2 separate regions of the Homo sapiens genome follow, and region 2 is linked to region 1. The links are contacts of gene promoters, found by promoter capture Hi-C in blood cells and fetal thymus (Javierre and others, 2016). All regions are on one chromosome and are shown on one strand. The core of a region is centred on a gene start or on the middle of the fragment in contact, and the rest is flanking DNA. Distances in the headings are between cores, read along the strand shown.

Region 1 (2,758 bases), core at 88-2,587:
CATGGATACCAAAATCCATGGATGCTCAAGTCCCTGATATAAAAGGTGTAGTATTTACATATAACCTATGCACATCCTCCTGTATATTTTAAATCATCTCTAGACTTATAATACCTAATACAATGTAAATGCTATACAAATAGTTATACTGTATTTTAAATTTTTATATTACTTTTTATTGTTGTTATTTATGTTTTTAATTTTTAGAAAATATTTTGCATTCATGGTTGGTTAGATCCATGGATACAGAATCCACAGATAAGAAGAAATGACCGTATTGATGTACTTGTCTTTTTTTTTTTTTTTTTTTGAGATGGAATTTCACTCTTGTTGCCCAGGCTAAAGTGTAATGGTGTGATCTTGGCTCGCCAAAACCTCTGCCTCCCTGGTTCAAGCGATTATCCTGCCTCAGCCTCCTGAGTAGCTGGAATTACAGGCATACACCATGACACCCAGCTAATTTTGTATTTTTAGTAAAGACAGGGTTTCTCCACGTTGGTCAGACTGGTCTCATTGTCTTACATTTTTTAAAGATGATTTCCAGGCTTCTCTGACCAGATATGTAAAAAATACCAGAACAGAAGAATAAAAAAAGCAGAAGCAGCACTCACTCTCTACCTGCTTGCCTTTTTTGTTGGGTCTCATCTGCTTTCACTTCCTCCTACCAAGTATTCAGAGATCCTGAAGTGATTCTAGGGCTAAGAGCCACATAGATGGGCTCAGAGCAGAACCGGTCCCCAACTACACAGCCTGGAAAGTGTGACAACAGACAGGCGTTTGGATTTTAATTCTTCTAAAAAGATCCTTTTTAGACAGAGTTGTCTTTTGGAGTGGGGATAAAGGAGGCCTGGGGGAGAAGAGAGGGTTCAGAGGTCACGGGGAATCATCCAATCCTACACAAAGCCTCAGAACAGGCATGATGTTCAAACAGCTCCAGTCCAGCCATTTGCAGATGTAAGAGAATAGGAAGATGATGTGAGTCACGGCATCCTTGAGTTTCTCCAACAGCCAATCCCTGCAATTTAAAAAATCTGATTGCCTCGTTATTTATTTGTAACTGAATTCTATTGTATACCTGTAGAGTGAAGCTGGGTAGACATTAAATAACAAGTATGAAAGGGAACCCTACCAGAGATGAAGGACAGACGGGAAAGGAGACGATGACCCACCTGAAGTTGAGATTGCTGTCTCCACTTGCCATCTGCCCCTGCTGGCCCTGCTGGGCCATGAGCTTGGCCTAGGATCACACCCGATTCGATTTTCACTGCCCCGTTCCTTCCTGCAGCTCTGAGGTGAAGCTGCCAACTGCCCCTCGGTGCTCAGTCAAAGAGGAAAAGAAAAGTGAAATTGCCTAACTAGCTGACGTGGGTGCACCAACTCTACAGTCCTCCCTCCACCCAATCTCCATGACGTCTCTCAGTCAAGGGAGGAGGAGCAGAGCCAGCCCCACGAGGCCACGGAAGACAGGGTCACTTGTTCCTGCCAAGGAAAGAGGGTGGAAAAGTCATTCAACTCAAGCAGATCAAAGTTGTTTTGAGGTAAGGTGGCATCATGAGGAGGAAGTAAACTCTGTATTTGTCCCCACCCCTTGCTGAGGTGGCTGAGAAGGACAAGTGAAGACCAGACATTTCAAATCTTCAGTCAGGCTCCAGGGCTGGCCATGCACCTTAGTGAGCCTGGGCTGGATGGCTTAGGCCCAGTGTTTGGACATGGGGCCAGGGAGAACTGAAATAGCATGCATTAGAAAGTGGGGGAGATGCTCTTAGCACTCCATGAAAGCAGACAGAGGTAAAAGACAACTCTCTCAACTCCTCCAGCCAAAGGCAAGTGCTGAGGTTGGGCAGAGAAATGAGGTGCAATTCTAAGTTTTCTCAAATATGTGGGCACTTTACAACAGCAGCCAGGGGTGACTGGGAAAAAAATGAGCTTCAACCATTTCACTGAAATCTTGAGGAGAGTGACAGCCTTCTCACTGGATGGGGAAAGGGTTTGGAGCTGAGATTATCTAGACCTTCAAGGACAATATGATACAGGAGGATAGCTGTATTACATTTATGTTTGCACACAATTTTTCATTTATACCCAGCCCTCATTCTGTAAAGGATTTGAAACAATTTACAAAAACACACTATATCAGCATAAAGTCGAGTGATAAACAAATGGAAGCAAAGGGCAAATATAAAAAATATAACCACAGGACTAGAAATCCAGGCAGAAAAATGGGTCAAAGACAGGGGGCTGATGAGAGCCAGGGTATGGGTAGAATCCAGGGCCAGTGACAGAACAGTAGTGAGGATTGAAAAGCCAGAGGCAAAGCAGTATTTTTCCAAAACATGTGCTCCTGAATCCTACTTTTTCTGGTTCATTACACATATGCAAGGAAATTTGCATACATAAGTTTGCAAAATACAGAGTGCAAGAAATTTCTACCCCTTCCACACTTCTGCTTTCTTTCTACCAAAGGAACAAACACCAATCTGGTTGAGACAAACTCTAGAACACTGATGAGGACACCTTTTCCAGTATCTCTCTCTCTCTCCTCTCTCTCTCTCTCTCTGTCCTCTCTCTCCTCTGTCTCCCTCTCTCTCCCTCTCTCTCCCTCCCTCTCCCTCCCTCTCCCTCTCTCTCCCTCCCTCTCCCTCCCTCTTTAAAACAAGAAGGAAAAGTATGCTGGGCTTCTGTTAGACACAGCTGTCCTCTCCTCCCAGTCTCCATGGGGCTCCAACAAGGCCTGGTACAGACTATACCGCCTGCTCCA
Region 2 (2,758 bases), core at 70-2,569, 130 kb before region 1:
GTCTTTTTTATTGCATTTGATATCTCCAGCTTATGTCTTTTGAAGTGCTTGAATACAGTGTCATAGACAAGTCCCTCATCTACATCCTGGTCTTCCGTGAACAGCCTAAGGAAAAAGGACACCAAATGAAAATGGTCATCAAGATTCTGAGATGTTTGTGGAGATGGTAAGATTTTATGTATAACGGATAAGCTATGAAGAACCAACATATATAAAATAGGTGGTCCTCAGTAGAGCCCAGAATAAATGGAATTGAAGCAACAAACAAAAATGTAATAGAAGATATCATGGAGCCTATGCAAGACTAATATAGAGGGCACTGAAAAAGCCCAGTCTAAACTGAACAAAGTCATTGTAAAGATATCTTCACCTAACCATATCTGGAATATTTTTCAAAATAAAAATATTGAATTCCTACAGAATCTAGATGGAGTAAGCAGGTCATCCACAGAGAAATGAAAGTCAATGGAATATAAATAAAAATCTAACCTTGAAAATGCAGCTTAATCAACAACTGAGAGAATTTGACAAAATAAAAATAAGATGTCCTTCTCTAATCTGTAGCTGCTAGGAAGGAAATACCATCATATATCATAAAATTAATTCATAAATAATACAATGTGGTTTAATAATGATAATAATACCACATTATTGAGAATTTCATGAGAATATCAGTGATATCTCCTGGAACATCTGGTTCTGCTTTGTGTTAATATAAATCTGTCCATACTATTGCTATATACAGTTAATCATTTTAGGCATCTGAATTTCAGAAATCGCTGCCGTTTCCTTTTAAAGCAATTTTAAAGCTGAGTCTCTAATTCTAGTTCTTAGTTGATCATGTTATTGCTCTGATAATGTTTTAATCAACATCTCAGTATTCCTAAATGTTATGAAAACTTGGGAGCTCTTTTTATCCAACCAGAAGAGAATTATTGGCACTTCCCAGTACACAACATAAAGCAGGAAACAATGTCGCATTATTGTTTTGAATTCCTGTAAAAAAAAGTTTCTGGTTAAAGTTCATTAAAATGATAATAAAGGAATTAGATTTACAGTGACAAAGAGAATGGTGGAGGACAATGAGCACATAAGAGATTTCAAATAAAACCTTGAAGACAAAAAGTGGTCAGAAAAGTGCTAGTTGCAATAGTAGGTAGGGGATGCTCCTAGAGGTTAGGAAAGCAATCGTGGTGCCCTACAGAATTCGGAAGAAACAGTGGAGATTTGAAGGGAGACACACAGCTAAAAACTGATTTGTTATTTGAAAAATGAACAGAGCAATGCATATACTGCCTGTGAACCTGCATACTGAACACATGCAGCCAGGCAGCCTCTCAGGGGGCAACCATTGCTGTCATTTATTCTGTCAGATGTTAATACTGCCTGCTCTTGGATTTCATATAAATGAGCAAAACATATACATGCTTTTGTGTCTGGCTTCTTTTGCTTATCATCTATGTTGCTGTGTTGAACAGTTAGTTTGTTCATTTTTGTTGTTGAGTGGTATTCCATTGTGTGAATCTACCACAGTCTGCGTACTCATTTTTCTCTTGATGGACATTGGAGTGGATTCAGTTTGAGACTAGTATGAATAAAACTGCTGTTCTTGTGCAAGTCTTTTTGTGGCAAAATGCTTTCATTTCTCTTGGGTAAATATGTGGGAATGGAATTACTGGGTCATTGTGTAAGAGTACATTTAACCATTTTAAAACCTGCCAAACTGTTTTTGCAAAGACTACCAGTGATGGCCTTTCTAGTTTTAGCCATTCCAGTGTGTACGATGTGATAGCTAATTTTAGTTTTAATTTGTATTTCTTTAATCAGGAAATTATGTCAAGCATGTTTTCATGTGTTTACTGGCAATTTATTTATTTTTTGGTGAAGTGTCTGTTCAAATGTTTGACCCATTTATATTATAGAATTTTATTTTATTTATTGACAGGTAGGAGTCCTTTTACAGATTATGGATAGAAGTGTTTTGTCTGATTTATGTATTGTAAATATTTTCACCCAGTCTGTAGCTTCCCTTTTATTTTCTTAATTATGTCTTTTGATAGGAAAAAATCTTTAATTTTGATGAAGTCCAATTTATTATTTTTTCTTTTATAATTAATGACTTTAGTGTACTAAGAAGAATTTGCCACTCCAAGGTCACGAAAATATTCAAAAAGCAATTTACAATATGAACATGGGTTTATATCTGTACTTTCTATGCCATACCATTGATCTGTTTGTCTATCCTTATGCTGATATGATTTTGTGTTGAATACCATGGCTTAAAGAAAGTCTTGAAGTCAATTAGAAAAGATTGTCTTGGACTTTCTAGATTCTTTGATTTTCCACATATCTTTTCAAATCAATTTGTCAATTTCTATGAGAAAAGCCTTTTGGATTTTTCTTGGGTTTGATTTGAAACTATAGATAAATTTGGGGGAGCTGACAACAATATTGAGCTTGCAATCTGTTAGCATCGTTTGCTTCTCCACTTATTTAGATTAATTTTAAAAATCAAGCACATCTTTCATTAAATTTATTTCTAGTTATTTTATTCTCTCTGGTGCTACTTTAAAGGATACTGCTTTTCAAATTCCTTATTGCCATTGTAGGAGATATGATTGGTTTGAAAACTATTAACCATGTATTTATGGCATTGCTAAATTCATGTATTAGTTCTAGTAAAGTATTTATAGATTTCCTTTATATTTTAAAGAAAATAAATATGTCATCAGCAAATAAAGACGGATTCACTGTTTCT

Evidence for each region. The method cuts DNA at HindIII sites, captures the fragments that hold promoters and counts their contacts. A CHiCAGO score of 5 or more calls a contact.
Region 2: a fragment that was not itself captured here is called in contact with the fragment with the promoter of SP140 in region 1 in 5 of 17 cell types (naive CD4 T cells, non-activated CD4 T cells, total CD8 T cells and 2 more); the score reaches 7.6 in naive CD4 T cells.

The regions. Positions count from the first base shown.
Region 1 is chr2:230,224,315-230,227,072 of GRCh38, reverse strand. SP140 (SP140 nuclear body protein) reads right to left here and starts at 1,337. Exons shown (of 27, transcript NM_007237.5): 1 at 1,170-1,337. The coding sequence starts at 1,228. It also overlaps a transcript of SP110 not described here. RefSeq lists enhancers at 748-797, 818-897, 968-1,017, 1,248-1,457. The HindIII fragment of the contact is 6,572 bases long and covers 1-2,758 here.
Region 2 is chr2:230,355,152-230,357,909 of GRCh38, reverse strand. SP140L (SP140 nuclear body protein like) reads right to left here. Exons shown (of 19, transcript NM_138402.6): 3 at 1-105. Among named protein-coding and RNA genes, the nearest start is that of SP140L, 29 kb to the right of the region's middle. The HindIII fragment of the contact is 5,058 bases long and covers 1-2,758 here.